Linked DNA regions of Homo sapiens: region 2 is linked to region 1. Evidence: promoter capture Hi-C in 16 types of primary human blood cells and fetal thymus (Javierre and others, 2016). All regions are on one chromosome and are shown on one strand. The core of a region is centred on a gene start or on the middle of the fragment in contact, and the rest is flanking DNA. Distances in the headings are between cores, read along the strand shown.

Region 1 (6,814 bases), core at 2,802-5,301:
ACAAGTACCCAGATGAAAGACCAGCCCTGCCAGCTGCAAACACAGGCTCACCATCTTACTCTCCCATTCTTTATAAAAAGTGTTTCAAAAGCCAAGTGCAGTGGCTCACGCCTGTAATCTCAGCACTTTGGGAGGCCGAGGCAGGTGAATCACGAGGTCAGGAGTTTGCGACCAGCCTGACCAACATGGTGAAACCCGTCTCTACTAAAAATTCAAAAAAAATTAGCCAGGTGTGGTGGCACACACCTGTAATCCCAGCTACTTGGGAGGCTGAGGCAGGAGAATCGCTTGAACTCGGGAGGCAGAGGTTGCAGTGAGCCAAGATCGCACCACTGCACTCCAGCCTGGGCGACAGAGCAAGACTGTCTCTCAAAAAAAAAAAAAAAAAGTGTTTCATGATCCACCCCCACTCCCTCAGATGGAGCACTAATGCAGGTCCAAGGTGCCAGCCCGGGTGGCAGGAGGAGCCCAAGCTGGTACATTTGCTCAATGGCATCAGGTGGTAGAAACGCCTGATCAATGGGCGTCATCTGCTCAGTGGGACCAGAGTGCTGGTTTCCAAGGCCCCCTCCCTGTGCTGCACCCCAGCTGAGCATGAACAAATGTTCCTGATTTTCCCTCTCAATGGCTGATGAAATAGACCAGAAAAGCAGCCCTCTGGAAAGGGAGAGGTCCCTAAAACCTGCACCCCAGGAACTGAAAGGGCTCTTCCCAAGAAGAGTGGGGAGCGAGCCTGCAGACTAACATGGGGCTCCCAGCAGGGACTGGTTACAGACATTCCCCTCTCTACCCAAAACTGCTGGGCACTTTGTCCTTCAGCTCTGATGGCAGGAGCTGGTTTCTGAAGCTGCTGCATTCACTCAACGCAGGATTTTGCTGTGTACAGGCGGGCAGAGAGAGGCAAGCCAGCCCGGAGAGGCACCTTCCACTGAATGGAAGGCAGAAGGAATGGAGCAGGGCTGCCCAGCCCCCTAAAAGGTTAGACTCTCCTGCTCTAAGTTGCAAGATAGCTCAGAATCTCCTCAGCCAACATATTCATTTTACAGACGGAGGAAGCAGGCTCAAGAGGGGAAATAACCTGCCCAAGGCCACACGGATGACTCAGAAGAGCTAGATTTCAAATCTGCTATTTTCCCTCTTCCTGGCACCCCCTCCCACACATCCTTGAATTAATCCTGTGTCCCTACCCAGCACCCTGCCCTCCAACACACCCCTCAGACCATTAAAATCTCATTTTTTAAAGGGCAGAGGGTTCCTTCCTGGACTCAGCCCAAGGTGTCCTAAACCCAACCCCAAGGTATCCTAAACCCAACTAACTTCGGCTTCTAGAAAGTGTCCTGGAGCTTTCAATGATGTGCTACCATTTCAGACTGGGGTTGGGTAAAAGCACCACATATACTGGCTGTTTGAATGGGTTTGGGGACAAGGGAGACAAGGAAACAGAGTGCCCAAGACTTGAAATGTTGCTAAATCAGAGATCTTGGAGTTTGCCTGGGAGAAGACTGAGCCCACACAAGATACTTTAAGCCCAAACACAGACTTTAGTAGCCCTTGGGGACCTTCAACTCCCTCTCCAATTCAGGAAAAGTGGGGTGGGGGTAGGGAGAAGAGGGGAGGGACAGAACACGGGAAACGCTGGCCTTCTAGGGGCCCCATGCTCCCAGGCAGGTTCCAAGGCAGGGCTGGTCCATGCAGGCTTCCCTCCACAGAAAAACAAGAGTCACTAAAAGCAAAACACAACAAAAAAAAACTTCTTTTGTTTTCCAGCCCCCTGGAATGTCTTAAAGACCTATCCAGACACAGCAGGCTTCTCCACCCTTTCCTTTCTCTCCTCTCTCCTCCTCCTCTTCTATTCAAAATAAAAATCATGCTGATCTGTCTTTATGGCAACTTTGTCCTGGAGCATTTCAGTAGCATCCAACAAAAACATGTGGCAGACTACATTGAACAGAGGAACCTCATCTCTTTCAGGGACCCCCATTTCCCCCACCTTTGTAAGGGACATTAAGGACATGGGAGCAGGAGGGGGGCTGCCCAAGGAGCACAGGTTACCAGCTAAGAGAAAGATGAAAACTTCTACCAACCACAATGAGGCCACGGCACAATCTATGATTTGCTCCTTTGCACTCACTTGGGGTGATGGGAGGAGGGAGGGAACTGGAGAGAAAGATGAGGCAATAGTCCCTCCAATGTCCCTTCAATGTTAGCCCCGCACATGACAAAGATGACAGTCCTCACAGATGCCAGCAGCCGTCGACTTCCCAAGGCACAGACACACAGACTCAACATACAGGGACCCTGAGGCCAGACAACTGGGACCCAGGGCAGATTTCCACCAATAATTGTGAAATGACCAGAAGAATGTGGCCTAGAGACCACAGACCCAGGGGATGAGGGTGGGGGCCAGGGCTCGTTGACTGCTGAGAAATTTAACACTTCTGCCTGGACTGCTGAAGTCTTTAAGGCCCCATCCCCCACCGCCCGCCCTGTGCCTCCCAGTTTACTTGTGCCCAGAGAGAGGATACCCCAAGACCCCCATCCTGCCTTCACCAGACAGGGATTCGACCAGATCCAGGAAACAAAGGTGCAACTTTTACAAAAAGGGTGCATGCATTTTGGGGTTTGGGTTTCTGCAACTCCAAAAACCGTCAAAAAGTTAATTCCCCAACCCACTCTCTCTGCACCAATTCGCAGTTGTAGTTTCTTACATCTTTTTCTGGGGGTAAATTTCTTACTCATCCATTTGCCCTGGCAGCCTTCCCGAGAAAAATCACATCCTGACTCCTAGCCTTTCCAGCCCACGGCGCAGTTATAACTGTGAACCTTTCGCCTCACTCTTGGTCCCGCTCCCCCGTCTGGCTAGTGTAGGGCGGGCTCCTCGGGGCGGGACCCCGCGTAAGTTGGGTGTCTGTGGTCCCTGCGTCCTGGATGTCGGCGCGGTTGCCTCGCAGGAGCCAGAACGCGCTTCCTGCTGGCGAGGGCCGGGGCAGTGCGCCCCCTGGCGGGAGCCCAGTCACCTCACTCCAGCAGGACCCGGAGCCGGCGCGATCCCACCCGAGCCGAGCACCGTCCCAACTGGCTCCCACTGCCCCCTAAATCTGGACGTGCCCGAGCCTCCCACCCACCCAGCACTCCATGGAGTCTCCACTTCCCCAAACCGCACACACCTAAGGAATAAGGGGGGTCCTGGAGGAACGAGTGGCGCCTCCGCCCCGCCCCGCCCCGCTGCCAGGGACCCCAAAGGCAGCCCGCCCTCCATGCAGCTGCCGGGCCCCACAGCCCTCCCGGCCCCGATCGCCGCTCCCAGTCCCTGGTCCCTCACTGTCTTACCGGGTGGCGTGGCGAGCAGCCCCTTTCCGGGCGCAGCCCTGGCCGAAACCCCGAACCTTGTAACCACACCTGCCACCCCGCGCCGTTCTCCAGAAGCCCCCACTCCTCCACCCGGAGCACTGGGAGCCCACCGGCTCTGCACCTGTCCTGGGCGCAGCCCCCGGCCCTCAGCGGACTCCGGGCAGGCACGGGGTGGAGACCGTCCCCGGCCCCCCAGCCCCCGCGTGCTAGTTTGAGTGGAACTTGGTTGCCGGGCTTCCGTCCTGGGATCCCTACTCCACCCCAATTCCCCGCCGCGTCCAGCAGCACCCCCGGGGCGGCGCGCGGGGGGGTCCCCAGGTCCCCGGGGGCGCGGCGGCGGCGTGCGGAGGGCACGGAGGTGCGGAGCCCCATACCTTCCAGCGGCGGCTGCCGGACCCCGCGCCAAATCCCGCCGGCGGCCGGGGGGAAACTTTCCTGGTCGGAGGGGCGCGCTCGCAACTTGCCCGGCGCCGGCTGCCTTCCCGGCGGTGGCGGCGCGTCCGGGGACCCGCAGCGCGAGGCGGCGGCGCTCGCTCGGGGCTCGGGGCCGGGACCGGGGCCGGGGCCGGGGCCGGGGCCGGGGCCGGGGCTGGGGCCGGGGCCGGGGCTGGGGCTCGGGCGGCCTCGCGCGGCTCCGCGGTGGATCGCTCGGCGCTACGTCCGCCCCGCAGCCTGGAGCCCCGCGACGCCGGCGGCAGCTGCACGCCCGCCAGCCCGCCGGCCCCACCTCCGCCGCCGTCCGTCCCTCCCCTCCCCCGCCCTCCCTCCCCCTCCCCAAACCTCCGCCCCTCCCGGCTCCAGACGCCGTTGCTGCCGAGAAGCGCGTCTCCTCTGCGGGCTGCCCCTCGCCTCCCGCCAGCCTCCGCCTCCTCCTCCAACCCCGCGTCCAGGCCTTGTCTGGGGGTCCCTGGGCCCACCCTCTGCCCATCTCCCCTTCCTCCGCCTCCGACCACCTCCCGCTCTGCTCGCGGGCCCTCTCTGCGTCTGAATTCGGAAGATCGTTGCGGGAGTGGGGAGAGGGGCATGCTGGACCCGAAGTGTTTATTCCAGGGGAACTTTCAGCTGACCCCGGGGCCCAAACGCAGGGGTTGGGGTGAGATCCTCGGTCCTGATCGGGCTCCTGGGCTTCCCGCTGCCGGGGGAAGTACCTGTTGAAAGCCTGGGGAACTCACCCTCCTCTGACTTGCAGATAAGAAAGGGGACTTCCTGCATGGAGGGGCCTGACCCCAGGTCAGATGCAAATGACTTGATTGCAAGGGGCCAGATCTGTGTCTCCGGCCTCAGGGCTGAGGTTCTTGCGGGGCTGGGGAGCTTATCTTTTCTTCTCTGTACTGCTGCCACAGCAGCACTGGCTCCCAACCCCTGACATGACTTGCCTGAGACTTTTAACCTCTGAGCCTCCTCTAAACAACTACCCGACCCTGCCCCAGACAAAACGGACAAGCAAGCAGATCAAAACTGACAGCCCAAGTGAAAGTACTGATGACAGGGGCTCGGGTCGCCCACTCCTCTTCCCTTGGCAACTCTGTTTTGAGTCCCAGCTTGAAGCTTCCACACCCCATCCCCGTGGGCCCTAGGCATTCAAGCACACATCAGCTCTGCAGGAGGCCCCTTGGCCAGCTGATTCTCACTAAGGGGTGACTGATAGGAAGGAGTTGACCCTACTCCTGTCTTGTATATGGATGTTGGTAGTCAGGCCACTGGGCAGAGTTTGGGGGGAGGGGGATCTTCTTGTTTTGTTTTTGTTTTGTTTTTGAGACAAGGTCTCGCTCTGCTGACCAGGCTGGACAAGCCTGGTCAACAAGCACAGCTCACTGTAGCCCGACCTCCTGCACGGCTTACTGTAGGCTCGACCTCCTGGGCTCAAGCAATCCAATCCTTCCAACTCAGCCCCCTCGAGTAGCTGGGACCAGAGGCATGTGCCATCATGCCTGGCTAATGTTTTCTGTTGTTTTTGGTGTGTGTGTGTGTGTGTGTGTGTGTGTGTGTGTGTGTGTGCGTGTGTGTTTTGTAGAGCTGGACTCTTACCATGTTGCCCAGGCTGGTCTCCAATTCCTGGCCTCAAGTGATCCTCCCACCTCAGTCTCCCAAAGTGCTGAGATGACAGACGTAGCCACTGCACCCAGCCACCAGCCAGAGTTTTGAGAGGCAGGAAGTGGCTGCCTTTCCTTGCCCACATTCCAGGAAATGGATTCGTCCCTGTAAGGGGATGTCCCTGTAAGGACTTCAGGGATGTCTGGTCCTTTAAAGAACTTCACCGCGTCACCGGGACTCTTAGAGTAGGCACGTGGCTGGAAGAAAAATCCCTGGATCCGCGGTTTCAAAGGGACCCAGAGTGAGCAAAGCTTCACCCAAGGGGAGGAAGTCCCTAATGGTGGAATTTCTATAAGAGGAGGACAAGGAGAAGGGCTCCACATTCACCCTTCAGCTGCCAAAACAGAATGGAGGGTGGAGGCTGAACACCCCACAGGCCCTGCACTTGTGGAATGCTGCTGGGAGAGGCCCCGTGTGAGCCTCCTTGGACACCAGGCGCCACATACATTTAAAGAGGAAAAACGGGAAGCCCACAGCAAGGGTGCTGGAGCTGGGGAAGTGGAGACCAGAGACAGGCAGAGAGAGGGATAGAGTCTCTAAGGGTCTGGGGCTTGGCAGAACGGGGCAGGCGCAGGGGAAGAGAGTGCAGACCCGCTGCACAACTTAGACAACCAGCTCGGTCCCTGACTCCAGTTCCAAGTCAGTTTCCTGGACCTCAGCCTCTCTCCAGCCTCCATGGAGGACCTGGCCCTATCTGTGCATTAGCTAAGGACATCTGCTGAATAGGCTTCTCTAAATCAACTCTTATTTTTTCATTCTTTTTTAATTTACTTAAGTGAGCTTGTTTTTAAAAAGATATGTTAAATTATTACCATAAATGGAAAGCCAGCATCACATTACTATAAATAGAAGGTAACCATCAAAATAAATACAATGAAAATAAGTGTTATTAAATTCTAACAATGTATCTTTAACCACAATAATAATAATACAGTCTAACAAGATACTGCTGCCTGAGGAGGTGTTGAAGCTGAGGTCCCACTTTCTCTTTGAAAGGAAGGTTACCAAAGGCTAGAAAGGTGTTAAAGACACATTAGCAACAAACTCTTCATCAAGAGCATTGATGAAAAGAGAATTGGGAAGGGACCCCCTCCACTCCCACTCCTCACCAGGTCAATTAGGGTATTGGAGGCCCTTGGATTACCTCCAATGACCTTAATTTCCTTGAACATCTCGAATGTCCTCTCAATTGGGAAACATAATTCTATGTATTGGTGCAAAAGTAATTGTGGGCTGGGTGCAGTGGCTCACACCTGTAATCCCAACACTTTGGGAGGCCTAGGTGGGTGGATCACGAGGTCAGGAGATTGAAACCCTCCTGGCCAACATGGTGAAACCCCGTCTCTACTAAAAATACAAAAATTAGCTG
Region 2 (6,681 bases), core at 3,337-5,836, 390 kb before region 1:
AAATTGGATAAAGAGTCAAGACTCATCAGAGTGCTGTATTCAGGAAACCCATCTCACAAGCAGAGACACACATAGGCTCAAAATAAAGGGATGGAGGAAGATCTACCAAGCAAATGGAAAACAAAAAAAGGCAGGGGTTGCAATCCTAGTCTCTGATAAAACAGACTTTAAACCAACAAAGATCCAAAGAGACAAGGCCATTACATAATGGTAAAAGGATCAATTCAACAAGAAGAGCTAACTATCCTAAATATATATGCACCCAATACAGGAGCACCCAGATTCATAAAGCAAGTCCTGAGTGAACTACAAAGAGACTTAGACTCCCACACAATAATAATGGGAGACTTTAACACCTCACTGTCAACATTAGACAGATCAACAAGACAGAAAGTTAACAAGGATACCCAGGAATTGAACTCAGCTCCACACCAAGCGGACCTAATAGACATCTACAGAACTCTCCACCCCAAATCAACAGAATATACATTTTTTTCAGCACCACACCACACCTATTCCAAAATTGACCACATAGTTGGAAGTAAAGCACTCCTCAGCAAATGTAAAAGAACAGAAATTATAACAAACTGTCTCTCAAACCACAGTGCAATCAAACTAGAACTCAGGATTAAGAAACTCACTCAAAACCGCTCAACTACATGGAAACTGAACAACCTGCTCCTGAAAGACTACTGGGTACATAACAAAATGAAGGCAGAAATAAAGATGTTCTTTGAAACCAATGAGAACAAAGACACAACATACCAGAATCTCTGGGACACATTCAAAGCAGTGTGTAGAGGGAAATTTATAGCACTAAATGCCCACAGGAGAAAACAGGAAAGATCCAAAATTGACACCCTAACATCACAATTAAAAGAACTAGAAAAGCAAGAGCAAACACATTCAAAAGCTAGCAGAAGGCAAGAAATAACCAAAATCAGAGCAGAACTTAAGGAAATAGAGACACAAAAAACCCTTCAAAAAATTAATGAATCCAGGAGCTGGTTTTTTGAAAAGATCAACAAAATTGATAGACCGCTAGCAAGACTAATAAAGAAGAAAAGAGAGAAGAATCAAATAGATGCAATAAAAAATGATAAAGGGGATATCACCACCGATCCCACAGAAATACAAACTACCATCAGAGAATACTACAAACACCTCTATGCAAATAAACTAGAAAATCTAGAAGAAATGGATAAATTCCTCAACACATACACCATCCCAAGACTAAACCAGGAAGAAGTTGAATCTCTGAATAGACCAATAACAGGCTCTGAAATTGTGGCAATAATCAATAGCTTACCAACCAAAAAAAGTCCAGGACCAGATGGATTCACAGCCAAATTCTACCAGAGGTACAAGGAGGAGCTGGTACCATTCCTTCTGAAACTATTCCAATCAATAGAAAAAGAAGGAATCCTCCCTAACTCATTTTATGAGGCCAGCATCATCCTGATACCAAAGCCTGGCAGAGACATAACCAAAACAGAGAATGTTAGACCAATATCCTTGATGAACATTGATGCAAAAATCCTCAATAAAATACTGGCAAACTGAATCCAGCAGCACATCAAAAAGCTTATCCACCATGATCAAGTGGGCTTCATCCCTGGGATGCAAGGCTGGTTCAACATATGCAAATCAATAAATGTAATCCAGCATATAAACAGAACTAAAGACAAAAACCACATGATTATCTCAATAGATGCAGAAAAGGCCTTTGACAAAATTCAACAACCCTTCGTGCTAAAAACTCTCAATTAGGTATTGATGGGACGTATCTCAAAATAATGAGAGCTATCTGTGACAAACCCACAGCCAATATCATACTGAATGGGCAAAAACTGGAAGCATTCCCTTTGAAAACTGGCACAAGACAGGGATGCCCTCTCTCACCACTCCTATTCAACATAGTGTTGGAAGTTCTGGCCAGGTCAATTAGGCAGGAGAAGGAAATAAAGGGTATTCAATTAGGAAAAGAGGAAGTCAAATTGTCCCTGTTTGAAGATGACATGATTGTAAATCTAGAAAACCCCATTGTCTCAGCCCAAAATCTCAAGCTGATAAGCAACTTCAGCAAAGTCTCAGGATACAAAATCAATGTACAAAAATCACAAGCATTCTTATACACCAATAACAGACAAACAGAGAGCCAAATCATGAGTGAACTCCCATTCACAATTGCTTCAAAGAGAATAAAATACCTAGGAATCCAACTTACAAGGGATGTGAAGGACCTCTTCAAGGAGAACTACAAACCACTGCTCAATGAAATAAAAGAGGATACAAACAAATGGAAGAACATTCCATGCTCATGGGTAGGAAGAATCAATATCGTGAAAATGGCCATACTGCCCAAGGTAATTTATAGATTCAATGCCATCCCCATCAAGCTACCAATGACTTTCTTCACAGAATTGGAAAAAATTACTTTAAAATTCATATGGAACCAAAAAAGAGCCTGCATCGCCAAGTCAATCCTAAGCCAAAAGAACAAAGCCGGAGGCATCACGCTACCTGACTTCAAACTATACTACAAGGCTACAGTAACCAAAACAGCATGGTACTGGTACCAAAACAGAGATATAGATCAATGGAACAGAACAGAGCCCTCAGAAATAATGCTGCATATCTACAACTATCTGATCTTTGACAAACCTGACAAAAACAAGCAATGGGGAAAGGATTCCCTATTTAATAAATGATGCTGGGAAAACTGGCTAGCCATATGTAGAAAGCTGAAACTGGATCCCTTTCTTACACCTTATACAAAAATTAATTCAAGATGGATTAAAGACTTACATGTTAGACCTAAAACCATAAAAAACCCTAGAAGAAAACCTAGGCAATACCATTCAGGACATAGGCATGGGCAAGGACTTCATGTCTAAAACACCAAAAGCAATGGCAACAAAAGCCAAAATTGACAAATGGGATCTAACTAAACTAAAGAGCTTCTGCACAGCAGAAGAAACCACCATCACAGTGAACAGGCAACCTACAAAATGGGAGAAAATTTTTGCAATCTACTCATCTGACAAAGGGCTAATATCCAGAATCTACAATGAACTCAAACAAATTTACAAGAAAAAGACAAACAACCCTATCAAAAAGTGGGGGGAGGATATGAACAGACACTTCTCAAAAGAAGACATGTATGCAGCCAAAAAACACATGAAAAAATGCTCATCATCACTGGCCATCAGAGAAATGCAAATCAAAACCACAATGAGATACCATCTCACACCAGTTAGAATGGCGATCATTAAAAAGTCAGGAAACAACAGGTGCTGGAGAGGAAGTGGAGAAATAGGAACACTTTTACACTGTTGGTGGGACTAGTAAACTAGTTCAACCATTGTGAAAGTCAGTGTGGCGATTCCTCAGGGATCTAGAACTAGAAATACCATTTGACCCAGCCATCCCATTACTGGGTATGTACCCAAAGGACTATAAATCATGCTGCTATAAAGACACATGCACATGTATGTTTACTGTGGCACTATTCACAATAGCAAAGACTTGGAACCAACCCAAATGTCCAACAACGATAGACTGGATTAAGAAAATGTGGCACATATACACCATGGAATACTATGCAGCCATAAAAAATGAGGAGTTCATGTCCTTTGTAGGGACATGGATGAAACTGGAAGTCATCATTCTCAGCAAACTATCACAAGGACAAAAAAACCAAACACTGCATGTTCTCACTCATAGGTGGGAATTGAACAATGAGAACACATGGACACAGGAAGGGGAACATCACACTCCAGGGACTGTTGTGGGGTGGAGGGAGGGGGGAGGGATAGCATTAGGAGATATACCTAATGCTAAATGACGAGTTAATGGGTGCAGTACACCAACATGGCATATGTATACCATGTATACATGTATACATGGTATACATGTGTAACAAACCTTCACATTGTGCACATGTACCCTAAGACTTAAAGTATAATAATAATAAAAAAAATACCATGATATCTTTTAAATGTCTCTAGAACCTGTACTGATAACCCACTTTCTTAGCTGATATTCTGTTTCTCTCTGTGTGTGTGTGTGTGTGTGTGTGTGTGTGTGTGTCTGTGTGTGTGTCTGTCTGTGTCTCTCTTCTTAGTAGGGGTTTATACATTTTATTTACTTATTTAAAGGCCTAACTTTTATCTTTGCTCATTTTCTCCACTGTGTATTTTTTTTCCTATTTGATTTCTGCTTTCATCTTTACTATTTCTTTCCTTCCACTTTCTTGAGGTTTAATTTGCTGTTGTTTATCTATCTTCCTGAGAGGGAAGCTTAGATTCATTAATTTTCCGTATATCTTTTTCTCTAAGAATTGCATTTAAGGCTATAAATGTTTCTGTAACCACAGCCTTTAGATGCAGCTCACAATTTTCATTATCCCACTCTAAATATTTGCTGTTGTAATGTTTCCTTTGGCCCATGGACTATTTAGCAGTGTGTTGCTTAATTTTCAAGCATTTAGAGATTTTCTAGTTGCCTTTTTATATAGATTTCTAATTAACTCCACTCCAGTTAGAGAGCATATTCTGTATAATTTCAGTTCTTTGAAATTTGTGTTAATTGCTTTATGACCCATTGTGTAGTCTATTGTGGTAAATGTTCCACAAGCACTTCAAAATAATATTCATTCTGCAGTTATTCAATATAATGTTGTATATACATTAACCAGATAAAATTGCTTAATTGTGTTGTTTAAATATTCAGTATTTCACTGTTTTTTGTTTGCTTGCTTGTTTTAGCATTTTCTGAGAGAAGTGTGTTAAATCTGTAACTCTGATTTTGAATTTGCCCATTTCTTTTTTAAAAATTCTGTTACTTTTGCTTTGCATATTTGAAGCTTTGAAATGAGGAGCATACTAATATGGGGAAGTTACTTCTTTAAGTCTACTTTATCAGATAGTAATATAACCACACCAGCTTTTTGTTAATGGTTTCCAGCAATATCTTTTCATTCTTTTCCTTTCAACTTGTGTCCTCCTATATTGTGTGTATCTCTTATAAACAACTAATATTTGCATCTTGTTTTTTTAGTTCAATCTGACAATTATTTCATATTATACTATTTATCCATTTATAATTAATGTAATTGCTGATATAGTTGGTAGTATCAAACTACCATCGTGTGATTTGATTTTTATTTGAACCATCTATTCTTCGTTTTTTAATTCCTCCTTTCCTGCCTTTCTTGACTTATCGACTATTTTTGTCACTTCTGTTAGCTTCGTGGTTATATGTTCTTTTTTTCTTTCAGTGGATCTAAACTGCATCCCTGAATTATTACAGTCTACCTTAAGGTTGCACTGTTACTTCTTCTTGAACAATGCAAGAACCTTCAATGCAAGAACCTTACAACAGTTTAACTCAACTTTATCTGCTCTTGCCCTTTGTGCTATTATTGTCATATATTGGTACTCATACATATATTATGAGCTGAAGATACATTGTCATTATTGCTGGTTTAAGTAATCAATATTGTTTTATGTTTACCTACATACTTATTGTCTTGGGTACTATTCACTCCTTCCTGTGGTCTGTTCTCTCTGGGCTCATTTTCCTTCACCATGAAGGACAGACTCTCTTTTGATTTATTGTGATACTGGTCTGCTGGTGATGATTCTGTATGTGGTTTTTTTTTTAATGAAAATATATTTCACCTTTAATTTTAAAGGACATTTTAGTGGATATAGAATTCTAAGTTGGCAATATTCTTTTTCTAGCTTCCATAGATTCTAGTGAAGACCAGTGGTCAGTTTTACTGTTACTTCTTTTAAGGTAATGGTTCCTTTTTTCCTCTAGCAGCTTTTTACTGTTTGTCTTTGTCTTTGTCTTTCAGCAGTTTATTATGAGCCTGCATGTGGTTTTACATTGTATCTATCCTGCTTGGGTTTTGCCTTGCTTTATAAAACTAAATCTGTGGTATTTGGAAAATTCTCAGGCATGATTTATTCAAATACTGGTTATGCCTCATTCCTCTCTCCTTTCTTTCTGATACTCCACATATGTGTATGTTAGAACTTTTGTTAGTACCTCACATGCCTTTATGCTCTGTTCTGTTCCCTCTCCCTCCCAGCTTTATTTCTGTGTGCTTCAGTGTGGATAATTTCTATTGAGTTCCAGTTCACTATCCAGTCATACACTGTGTTCAGTCTCCTGTTAAATACATTCAACAAATTCTTAAAATTCTGATATATTTTCAATTCTAGAATGGCCATTGGATTTTTAAGAGATATTCTAACTATTTTAATTCTCCACTTTTTAATCCATCTTGCGCATCTTTTCCTGTATTTATTTTCACATGCTGATCATGGCTGTTTTTATGTCCTTACTGCTAACTCCAGTAACTGGGTCAGCAGTGGCTCTGCTATTTTTTGTTCACATTTTCCCCCTTCCTTGCTCATCTCCTACTTTGTCACTGTCACTGTCACTGCCAGATGCTGCTCATAGAAGGACCATAGAGGCTATAGATAATATCTTTCAGTAATTAGGGTTTAGTCTTTTATTCTGTTAAGAAAATGGGGTAAGGGACTGATAATCTTGTGGCTGCATTACAGTATTAGTAAGACTCAGTCCGCCACTGGTACCTGCCTATTCTTCCTGGTATGGCCTTACCAGGTGTTTTTTTTTTTTTTTTTTTTTTTTTTTTTTGAGACA

What was found. Contacts are between HindIII fragments. The CHiCAGO score rates a contact against its expected background, and 5 or more counts as called.
Region 2: a contact is called between a fragment that was not itself captured here and the fragment with the promoter of TSPAN18 in region 1, in 1 of 17 cell types (total CD8 T cells). The highest score is 5.4, in total CD8 T cells.

The regions. Positions count from the first base shown.
Region 1 is chr11:44,724,199-44,731,012 of GRCh38, reverse strand. It overlaps TSPAN18 (tetraspanin 18), which reads right to left and starts at 4,051. Exons shown (of 10, transcript NM_130783.5): 1 at 3,726-4,051. The region is part of intron 2 of TSPAN18-AS1 (TSPAN18 antisense RNA 1); the gene reads left to right. RefSeq lists enhancers at 1,546-2,046, 2,047-2,549, 4,265-4,434, 3,801-4,662, 4,663-5,523 and silencers at 2,919-3,088, 3,925-4,074. The HindIII fragment of the contact is 6,014 bases long and covers 1-4,901 here.
Region 2 is chr11:45,119,614-45,126,294 of GRCh38, reverse strand. The region is part of intron 3 of LOC105376652 (a long non-coding RNA gene); the gene reads left to right. It also overlaps a transcript of PRDM11 not described here. Among named protein-coding and RNA genes, the nearest start is that of PRDM11, 24 kb to the left of the region's middle. The HindIII fragment of the contact is 566 bases long and covers 4,304-4,869 here.